Regions from separate parts of the Homo sapiens genome. Here region 1 is linked to region 2. Evidence: promoter capture Hi-C in 16 types of primary human blood cells and fetal thymus (Javierre and others, 2016). All regions are on one chromosome and are shown on one strand. The core of a region is centred on a gene start or on the middle of the fragment in contact, and the rest is flanking DNA. Distances in the headings are between cores, read along the strand shown. Region 1 overlaps TMTC3 (transmembrane O-mannosyltransferase targeting cadherins 3). Region 2 holds the start of C12orf50 (chromosome 12 open reading frame 50).

Region 1 (5,785 bases), core at 1,066-3,565, 140 kb after region 2:
TTCTGAAAATGTAAATCTACTGTCTTCCGGCTTTTATTGTTTTCAGTGGGAAAACCTCTATCATCCTTATCTCTTTATGCTAATGTATGTTATGTGTATTTTTTCTATGCCTGTTTTTAATATTTCCTGTTTACCATTGTTTCTTATGTATTTATGTTTCTTGTGCTTAGGTAAACTGAGCTTCTTGAAATCTGTAGATTTTAATTTTGTAAAAATTTTGGAAAATGTTTAGCTAGTCTTCAAATATTTTTGCCATCTTTTCTTTTTCCTATTTTTCTTGTATGTCAGTTAAGTATATTTAAGTTTCTTGAAGTTGTTGCACTGATGCTCTGTTTTTTTCCCTCAATCTTTTACCATTTTTAGTTTGGATAGTTTCTTTTGCTATATCAAGTTCACTAATCTTTTTTCTGCAATATCTAATCTACTCTTAATTTCATCTAGTTGTTTCTTACCTCTGAATCTGTTTTCATCTTCAGAAGGAAGTCTGATTTGAGTATTCTTTTATATCTTCTATATCTCTACATGTTCTATTGCTTTAATGTCCTTGCCTACTAATTCTATCATCTGTGTCATTCCTTGGTCAGTTTTTATTGAATAAATTTTCTCTTCATTATAGGTTGTATTTCTCTGCTTCTTTGCATGTCGGGAAATTGTTGAACAGATACCATTTGTGAATTTTACCTTAATGTATTCTATAAATTTTGAGTTTTATTCTGGAATGCATTTAAGTTACTTGGAAAATGTTTTATCTTTCAGTCTTGCTTTTTTTCTTTCTTCTTTTTTTTTTTGAGATTAGAGTTTCGCTTTTGTTGCCCAGGGCTGGAGTGCAATGGCGCAATCTCGGCTCACCGCAACCTCCACCTCCCAGGTTTAAACGATTCTCCTGCCTCAGCCTACTGAGTAGCTGAGACTACAGGCATGCGCCACCACGCCCAGCTGATTTTTGTATTTTTAGTAGAGATAGGGTTTCTCCATATTGGTCAGGCTGATCTTGAACTCCTGACCTGAGGTGATCCGCCCACCTCAGCCTCCCAAAGTGCTGAGATTACAGGCATGAGCCACTGCACCCAGCCCAGTCTTGCTTTTAAGCTTTGTTTTGTGGGACCACAATAGCATTTAGGATAAGACTAATTTCACTTCACTACTGATGCAAGATCTTTTTGACTATTGGATGTGAACTGTAAATTACGAAGATTTCCACACTGTCTGCCGAGGAACTATTCCTGGCTCGGTATATTTGGGAATTTTTAGCTCTAATGCATTCAGGAGGTTTTTGCCTGATTGTATTAGTTTTCTGAAGGCTGCTGTAACAAATAACTACAAACTGAATAGCTTAAAATAACAGAAATTTGTTCCCTCACAGTTCAAGAGGCCAGAAATACCAAATCAGTATGTCAGCACAATTGGTTCCTTCTGGAGGCTCTAAGGAAGAATTTGTTCCATAACTGTCTGCTGGTTTCTGGTGGTTGCTAGCAGTCTTTGGCATTCCTTGGCTTGTAACTCCATCACTTCAATCTACTTTGTCTTCACATTGCCTTCTTTTCCAGTGTATCTCTTTCTTCTCTTTTTATGAGGACCCCAGTCGTTGGATTTAGGGCCCACCCTAACCCAGTGTGACCTCATCTTAACTAATATTGGCAGAAACTATTTTCAAATAACACCACATTCTGAAGTTAGGGTAGACATGAATTTTTTAGAAATATGATTCAACCCACTACACCGACCATGGGTATTTCCTCACATATATGTGCTGATTTGAACTCATCAAAATCAGGCCAGGTGTGGTGGCTCACGCCTGTAATCCCAGCACTTTGAGAGGCTGAGGTGATCACTTGAGGTCAGGAGTTTGAGACCAGCCTGGCCAACATGGGGAAACCTCATCTCTACTAAAAATAGAAAAATTAGCCAGCGTGGTGGTGCACGACTGATCCCACCTACTCGGGAGGCTGAGGCACAAGAATCGTTTGAACCTGGGAGGCAGAGGTTGCAGTGAGCCAAGACTGTGCCATGGCATTCCAGCCTGGGTGACAAAGCAAGACTTTGTCTCAAAAAAAAAAAAAAAAAAAAAAGAACTCATCAATATTGAAAACTGGAGAGAGACCCTCTACAGATGTCTCAGGTTCTCTTTCTCAGCAGCTTTCTTCTGTCTGGATTCTTCCTCACTAATTCTAGCCCCCGCACTCCTAGGGCTCCCAACTTCATACTCTCAATTCAGTATACCACTGGGCTCAGCCTGGGTTCCCTCTTGCTGTTTTACTGACTAAAAACTCTATCCAGGTACTAAACTCTTTCCAGAAAAAGCTCCCCTTATTTGTTTTTCTTCTCTCAGGTATTACAGTCCTTTTTCACCTTATGCTCAGTATGTTTAAAAAAAAATTATACCTCTTATACAGTTTTTTAGTTGTTTAAGGCTAGAAAGCAGAAGATATAGTGAATTTTAAGTCTGCATATCATATTTATCTACTTTAACATTTAGCCTTTTTTCATTTCACCTGACTTGGCTAAAATTTAAAATGAAATTTATACTATTTCCCTGTTCAATTTTAAGTTATTGCCATTACATGCAAGAACTTTTATTTTTAACAAAAGGCCAACATGTTATTCACATTATGTTACATGATCGTGCATTGCTGGCGCTGGGTAGAATAAATTTTATTCAGATAATTTTTAAACCCAAAACTGTGTGATATTTTCACATAACTATCCTCCCTAGCATTTTTTTTTCTTTAAAGAATAATTACTTGTTAATATCCTGGATTTTTATCTCTGAGTCTAGCCGTGCTAAAATGAACTTGTGCAGATATTACAGTATTGGAAATAGAGAAGATTGAATTGTTTATATAAGACTTCGGATTTCCTTCTTAGTTTCATTGGTTTTCTGTTATTCCTTTTAGAGAATTTGAATCAACTATTTTCTATTTCCCTATCTACAGTCTAAAAATATAGTTTATAGGTGTGAATTTATGTATGTGTTAGTAGGTATGAATATGGTGCTTATAGCATATAAATATTTTCCAAATAAAGCATTTCAACATTGTGTATATATGTTTGTGTATGTGTGTATAAATTCTATTACCCTCTGAAGTTGGATTTAATATAATTTGATTTATTTTGACATTAACTCTTTCTTTAAATCAGCTATCCTAAATAAACTGTAATTTTTAAAACTAAATTCCGAATAGTGAATTATAGGCAAAAAGATAACTTTTTATTCAGTTCTGCTGGTTATTTTGAGAATTCAAGTTCAGACTCAAGATTTATTATTTTATCTGAAAAATAATATGTAAGTTGTGAGATTCCGTATGAAAATTTTGAAATGATATTATTTGTTCAAATAGTATTTATTTTTATCAAATATTTGATATGTTTTCAGAAAATCAAGTCAAATAAGTGGCAGTAGTTGATTTTCCTTGGCTTACTCATCTTAAAATGAGAAAATGGGTCTTTTAAGTACTATATATTATAACCAATATAATTTAGAACACAGACTAAACTAATGAAATGTATATATGTTGTGGCCTGGGAAAAGATAAACTATGATATAAGCTTATATTAGTATTTACTAAGAGAGAAAGTAGAACACAAATTCTTACACAGGCCTACACAGTTACTACTTTGTACTAGAAATTTGGTTTTTAGCTTCCTAGGAGTCAAAGAAAAGAGGGAAGGAAGCTAGGTGATATGGTTTTCTCTCTCCATGACAGAAGAAAAATATACGAATTTTTTCCAGGAAGCATAATTTTTAATTAGCATTTAGCTCTAAAAGAAATGTCTCATGTAGGAAAGCATTGGTGAGTGTTTTCAAAAGTGATTCATACAACACATACAACCATAAATCTTATACAACTTTTTGTTACTACTTTTAATCAAAAGGTTTAATGGAACACTTTTGCAGTGTTGTAATATTATAGGATGCATGTCTGAATTATTCTAATAATAAACAGAAATGGATGACCTGCTTGCCTTTCAAACAGTCCTTCATAAATATCACTTCTCTGAAGTAGATGTTTCATAAAGTTTTGATAGTTTGAACTCTAGCAAGAGTCTGAGGTACACATAACATTTGTCTGTGTCTTCTGTTTAATAAGATGATATATAAAATGTTTATTGTTTAGTGTTTTACTTATGTAAATAATTCTGTACTTTAAAAGTTTTATTTGTAATCTTTTTTTTAATCCTTTATACAGGTTTGATAACCCAGCTGCTGTAAGCCCAACTCCTACAAGGCAACTAACTTTTAACTACCTCCTTCCTGTGAATGCTTGGTTGTTATTAAATCCTTCAGAGCTCTGCTGTGATTGGACCATGGGAACAATACCACTTATAGAGTCATTACTAGATATTCGAAATCTGGCCACATTTACTTTCTTTTGTTTTCTGGGGATGTTGGGAGTATTCAGTATCAGATACTCTGGTGATTCCTCCAAGACTGTTTTAATGGTAAGAAACTTTTCTTAACTTCCAAATGATGTTAACATTCAGTTGAATAAGTAAGAAACTACCTTTAATTCAGCAAAAGCATCTTTTTAGAAGCACTCCTTTCTTTGTTCAACGGCATCCCAATTTATAAACGTATTTGAGTTTATCCCAAAATTCTCAGTTAATTTGCAGGCATAATTTGACATATGTTCAGCACATAAAATATTTGTTACCTTTATCCAACTAGATTATACACTTTTTGAAGAAATTGATTATATTGTATATTATTTGTTTTCTTGGCACAGAGAAGAACATCATATAAGATATACAACTAGAAATATAGAGCTTTTCAGTTCTCATGAGCAAGGTGGTTTTTATTACTCCCTTAGATAGCTTTCACTATGTTCGGAGAACTCTGATTATTTGAACAGTTTTTTTTTTTTTTTTTTGGTGGTGGTTTTTCTGTACTGTTTTTCTTCTTATTTTCTTACCCTGTGTCACTTCATACTCATAAGAGTTATGTTTTCTCTCCCTTTTAATTATTGAAGACAGGCTGGGTGCGTTGGTTCTTGCCTGTAATCCCAGCACTTTGAGAGGCCAAGGCAGGTGGATCATTTGAGGCCAGGAGTTTGAGACCAGCCTGGTCAACCTGGTGAAACTCTCGTCTCTACTAAAAATACAAAAATTAGCTGGGTAGCTGGGTGTGGTAGTGGGTGCCTGTAATCCCAGCCACTCAGGAGGCGGAGGCACAAGAATCACTTGAACCAGGGAGGTGGAATTTGCAGTGAGCTGAGATTGCGCCACTGCACTCTAGTCTGGGCGACAGAGCAATACTCTTTCTCAAAAAAACAAAAATAAAAATAAAAGTTTATTGAAGACAATAGTACATTTTCTCAGGCATTTATTATATGTCAGAAAGTATGTTTAATGAATTGCAGATACATAATTTTTTGCTGTAGCTGCTAGATTGATTTATTCATTCAATAAAAACTTAGACTTTACCCTTTGTACAGTGCAGCATTTTAGGTGCTGAGGTTATGATAGTAAATACACAGTTCACGTTTCCAGAGAACTTACACAGTTCACGTTTCCAGAGAACTTACATTCTAGAGAAATTTGGATGTCTGAGATACAGAGTAGATTTAAAGATTGTGTTGTCTATTATCCTTGAACATGTTGAGTTTGCATTACTGTTGAAACATCCTGTTGGACATTTTGAACAGCACTTTATGTCTGGAGTTCATAGAAGATAGTTAAGTTACACATAGAAATCTTATCCATTAACATAGAGGTGGTAATTGAAACCAGGATGTAGATAAGGTGAAATGTAGATGAGGTTATAGAGCAGCCTTTCTCAACTGGGGTT
Region 2 (5,629 bases), core at 166-2,665:
ACCACTTGCCCATTGTCACAAAGTTAATACTTAACTCATACTCTCTGTGCTTCAGTTTTCTCATCTGTATACAGGAAATAAAAACTACTTTCCTTACAGGTTAGCTGTAAAAATGATGTGATATAAGGTATTGTGAGCTATTATTATTATTTATTCATTTAATTATTTACTGGTAACTTACTCATTAGCCACTCTGCTAAGTACTTGGGGATACAGCAGTGAAATAGACAAAACACTCTGCCCACCTGGGACATGAAATCTGTTATTATTCTTTATTATCCTAGCATTTAATCTAACAGGTAATAGAAGTGAATCCAATTTCTGTGGTCAGAGAGGTTGACTCCATTCAGGTTTCCTAACAGAGAGGAAACACTTGAAACCAGACATATCATCTTTTTCACTGGATTATTTCTTGCATGAGCACAAAGCTCCAAATATTGAGTTTCTACCTTTATCTGGTTTTACTAAGATCTATACATCCTAATACATTGGAGGAATTCTCAGTTTTTCCCATTTAACTTTATAAAGTTTAATTTATATGTGGCCAATTTGTTTATATTAATTTTCTTTTTTAATGATATTTAAATATTTGTTATTACTTAGACTTTTGACAGAGGAAAATTCAGTAATTGGGTTAATAAATTTCAAATAGGAAAACAGATTTATTACACTAAGATTGACACTTACCTGAATTCAACTATTTGAATTATAATGACTGGAATCATATTAACTAAAACAATATCTTGTAACCTATGATGTTTTAATATTAGGAATTTAATGTCTCAAGGTGTCATAATATAGGCAAAAGTGCCACATGAAGATTCAAAAGCTATAGACATATAACTGGTATATATAAGGGTAGTTTCAAACAAATAATAATTTTAAATTATCTCAGATTTCTTCAGAGAAATTCAGTATGTCAAAAATACATGATAAGCTGTTACTCCAGATTTTACAAATATAAGATATCTTGCAAGAAAATAGTAAATTTTTGTTCAGCAATACAAGTTATTGCCATATCTCCCTTCATTCTACTAAAAAGATTAAGCATGTGAAGTACTGTCAATTGTACAATATTTACCTTTATGCATGTGGAATTAAAAAAGAAATAGCAGTCATTCCCAACTTCTGCCATTTTCAACTCTCTTGCTGCTAATCCAATGGTTTTTTTTTTTTGAAAAATATATATGAATTTCAGGAATGCAAATACAAGAACTATCAGTGTGTAAGGGGGAAAAATAATTTCTTTTCCACAGTCTTTCAGGCTATCAGTAGTATTCCTTTAAAACTGACCTCCTGTTGACAGTATATTACGCAATAGATAATTCTTAAAGACATTTAAATTAGAAGATACCTTCTCTAGCTTTGCAGAAACGCTGAAAGTGGTTGCTAGTAAGCACACAAACTCAAACTTCTAGAATTTTCCTCATTGTTACCTAATCCATTGTTTGCTCATCATAAATGACCTCACATGTAACTGCAGGCCAATGTTCACTCAGGTAAACTACAGTTTACCTGAGTGAACACTGTATTTCCCTTACTCAGTTTTAGCATATTAACTACAAAGGACTAGCAAAAATAAAATAGCATACTTTAATCTTTCAATGTTCTCGTTGAATATGGACTATAAACTAGTTTATACTTTTATAATAGAAAGTGATAAGTATTTCACAAGTAAACAGCTATTTCTAAATCTTCGTTTCTATAGAGGTTTTGGGAATAACACTAAAAATTTGCCATAGGTAAATGAGCTACTCATATTCTAAGATAATAAAAACAATTATTTAAATATGTACTCTCTACTATCCATTGATTTGGGAAAAATCATATTCAAATTGTGATATATTAATAGGTACCTGAAAATATATTGGGCTACTTATTCATCTTGTGGCTATATTCCATTTATTTTTCATCCATCATAAAAAGAGGAATATCTTCTTCCTATAGCAGAAAGTTTCCAGAGTGCTTGAAGGCTTTGAGAATTTGTTGAAAACAAGGGAAATACTCTGATTTCCAGAATGAAACATTTCAATCAGCAGTTATTTATATCTTCCTCTTAGTATCTTTAATCAAATAATTAAAACCCAGCAGAAATTAATAAAAAATATTCCTCATAAATGTATTAGTCCGTTTTCATGCTGCTGATAAAAGCATACCCAACTGGGAAGAAAAAGAGGTTTAATTGGACTTACAGTTCCACATGGCTGGGGAGGCCTCAGAATCATGGCAGGAGGTGAAAGGCACTTCTTACACTGCGGTGGCAAGAGAAAATGAGGAGAAAGTAAAGGTAGAATCCCCTGATAAACTGATCAGATCTTATGAGACTTATTCACTATCATGAGATTAGCATGGGAAAAACCCGTACCCATGATTCAATTACCTCCCCCTGAATCCCTCCCACAACATGTGGGAATTCTGGGAGATACAATTCAAGTTGATATTTGGGTGGAGACAGAGCCAAACCATATCATTCCACCACTTGTCCCTCCAAACTTCATGTCCTCACATTTCAAAACCAATCATGCCTTTCCAATAGTCCCCCAAAGTCTTAACTCATTTCAGTATTAATCCAAAAGTCCACAGTCCAGTGTCTCATCTGAGACAAGGCAAATCCCTTCCACCTATGAGTCTGTAAAATCAAAAACAAGCTAGTTACTTCCTAGATACAATGGGGATACTGGTATTGGGCAAAGCCACTGCAAGTGGGATAAGTTGGCCAAAACAAAGGAGTTACAGGACCCCTGCATGTCCTAATTCCAGCAGGGCAGTCAAATTTTAAAGCTCCAAAATGATGTCCTTTGACTCCAGGTCTCACATCCAGGTCATGTGGATGCAAAAGGTGGGTTCCCATGGTCTTGGGCACTCTGACCCTGTGGCTTTGCAGGGTACAGCCTCCCTCCTGGCTGCTTTCACAGGCTGGCATTAAGTGTCTGTGGCTTTTCCAGGTGCATGGCACAAGCTGTCAGTGGAGCTACCATTCTGGGGTTTGGAGGATGGTGGCTCTCTTCTAAAAGCTCCACTAGGCAGTGCCCCAGGAGGGACTCTGTGTGGGGGCTCCAGCCCACATTTCCCTTCCACACTGCCCTAGCAGGGGTTCTCCATGAGGTCCTTACTTCTGCAGCAAACTTTTACCTAAGCATCCAGGTGTTTCCATACATCTTCTGAAATCTAAGTGGAGGTTTCCAAACCTCAATTCTTGCCTTCTGTGCTCCTGCAGGCTCAACAGCAATGTGGAAGCTGCCAAGGCTTGGGGCCTGCACCCTCTGAAGCCACAGCTCGAGCTCTATGTTGGCCCCTTTCAGTCATGGCTAGATTGGCTGAGACACAGGGCACCAAGTCCCTAGGCTACAGATGGCACGGGGACCCTGGGCCTAGCCCATAAAACCACTTTTTCCTCCTGGGCCTCTGGGCCTGTGATGGGAGGGGCTGCCGTGAAGGTCTCTGACATACCCTGGAGACATTTTCCCCATGGTCTTGGGGATCAACATTAGGCTCCTTGCTACTTATACAAATTTCTGCAGCTGGCTTGAATTTCTCCTCAAAAAATGGGTTTTTCTTTTCTACTGCATCATCAGGCTGCAAATTTCTAAACTTTCATGCTCTGTTTCCCTTTTAAAATGGAATGCTTTTAACAGCACCCAAGTCACCTTTTGAATGCTTTGCTAAGCATTCAATCTTCCAGATTCAGCAATACCAGATACCTGAAATCATCTCTCAGGTACTTTGTTCAAAGTTCCACAAATCTCTAGGGCAGGGGCAAAATGCTGCCAGTCTCTTTGCTAAAATATAACGAGAATCACCTTTGCTCCAGTTCCCAACAAGTTCCTCATCTCTGTCTGAGACCACCTCAGCCTGGACCTTATTGTTCATATCACTATCAGCATTTTTGTCAAAGCCATTCAACAAGTCTCTAGGAGGTTCAAACTTTCTCACATTTTCCTGTCTCTTCTGAGCCCTCCAAACTGTTCCAACCTCTGCCTGTTACCCAGTTCTGAAGTCACTTCCACATTTTTGGGTATCTTTTCAGCAACACCCCACTCTACTAGTACCAATTTACTGTATTAGTCTGCTTTCACACTGCTGATAAAGACTGGGAAGAAAAAGAGGTTTAATTGGACTTACAGTTCCACATGGCTAGAGAGGCCTCAGAATCATGGTGGGAGGTAAAAGGCACTTCTTACATGGTGGCAGCAAGATAAAATGAGGAGGAAGCAGAAGTGGAAACCCCTGAGAAAACTATCAGATCTTGTGAGACTTATTCACTACCATGAGATTAGCATGGGAAAGACCCACCCCCATGATTCAATTACTTCCCCTGGGTCCCTCCCACAACACATAGGAATTCTGGTGGATATGATTCAAGTTGAGATTTGGGTGGGGACACAGCCAAGTCATATCAATAAATAACATAAAAGGTGCCATGAAAATCACACATTACTCTAGATAAAAACGTATTTTTAAATTGTCATGTATGTTTAATTAGAAATGTAAAAGACTAAGACAAATATGAATTCCCACTTCGGTTATGTAAAACAAGCTAAGCTGCTGGGAACTTTTGGAAGACAATGTTTTAGGATAAAAATCTGATATGTAAAATAAAATAAAATATAGAAAAAAGTTTTTAAATGTAAATTGAACATAATTAAAAAAACGAGGTAGTGTGAGAGGTAAATGAAGTAGAGAATAAAGATTTGGCTAAACCCTTGAAAATACTGGCAAAGATACATAGAAAAATATAACTACATTTTGTTTTGCCCTATCTTCTAACTCTAGAACAAAGCACCCATGAAGTAAGCACTTAAGCTACTGGGAGAAACATCCCTAAGAAATATTTTAAGTGTGTTTTGCCTCCAGATAAACACTGTCTACACCTGCGAACTTGTAGCTTCATTGGACTGTTTTCAAATATTCTTACCAAACACTATTATTGCATGTTACATGTAACATCATGATTAAAGTCATTGTGAGAATTCCTGTTTTACAAAGGAGAAAGTCTGAAAAAAAGTGTTTACTTCTTGAAGTTAGGTGCAAACAGCTACATTCCAGTAGACACAGCAAAAACAGGTCAAACTCACATGGGATTTTTTTTTTTTTTTTTTTTTTTTTTTGTCATTGCAGAGCACATAAAATAGATCTGTACATTTTGGTAGTGTTTAGAATGCCTGGAGTCTTACCTTCTCTACCTTTTTAAACTCTCTTTTCTTTTCCTTCTCCCTCAGCCCCTTTTTTCTTTTCCTTATTCTCTTCAGTTCTATTCTTTACTGTTGTGAATTTCATTCTGGTCTTAAAAAAAAAAAAAGCTGTTACGGCCAGGCGTGGTGGCTCACACCTGTAATCCTAGCACTTTGGGAGGCAGAGGTGGGCAGATCATGAGGTCAGGGGTTCAAGACCAGCCTGACCAACATGATGAAACACTGTCTCTACTAAAAAAAATACAAAACCTAGCTGGGCGTGGTGGCACACGCCTGTAATCCCAGCTACTCAGGAGACTGAGGCGGGAGAATCGCTTGAACCCAAGCCGTGGAGATTGCAGTGAGCCAAGATTGAGCCACTGCACTCCAGCTTGGGTGATAGAGCGAGACTCCATCTAAAAAAAAAAAAAAGCTATTACAGCCCTATGAGGATGATT

Evidence for each region. Contacts are between HindIII fragments. The CHiCAGO score rates a contact against its expected background, and 5 or more counts as called.
Region 1: a fragment that was not itself captured here is called in contact with the fragment with the promoter of C12orf50 in region 2 in 5 of 17 cell types (non-activated CD4 T cells, naive CD4 T cells, total CD4 T cells and 2 more); the score reaches 7.6 in non-activated CD4 T cells.

The regions. Positions count from the first base shown.
Region 1 is chr12:88,162,143-88,167,927 of GRCh38, forward strand. It overlaps TMTC3 (transmembrane O-mannosyltransferase targeting cadherins 3), which reads left to right. Exons shown (of 14, transcript NM_181783.4): 7 at 4,188-4,440. Among named protein-coding and RNA genes, the nearest start is that of TMTC3, 23 kb to the left of the region's middle. The HindIII fragment of the contact is 2,457 bases long and covers 1,088-3,544 here.
Region 2 is chr12:88,027,986-88,033,614 of GRCh38, forward strand. C12orf50 (chromosome 12 open reading frame 50) reads right to left here and starts at 1,416. Exons shown (of 13, transcript NM_152589.3): 1 at 1,355-1,416. LOC107984542 (a long non-coding RNA gene) reads right to left here. Exons shown (of 3, transcript XR_007063395.1): 3 at 5,108-5,283. The HindIII fragment of the contact is 7,634 bases long and covers 1-5,629 here.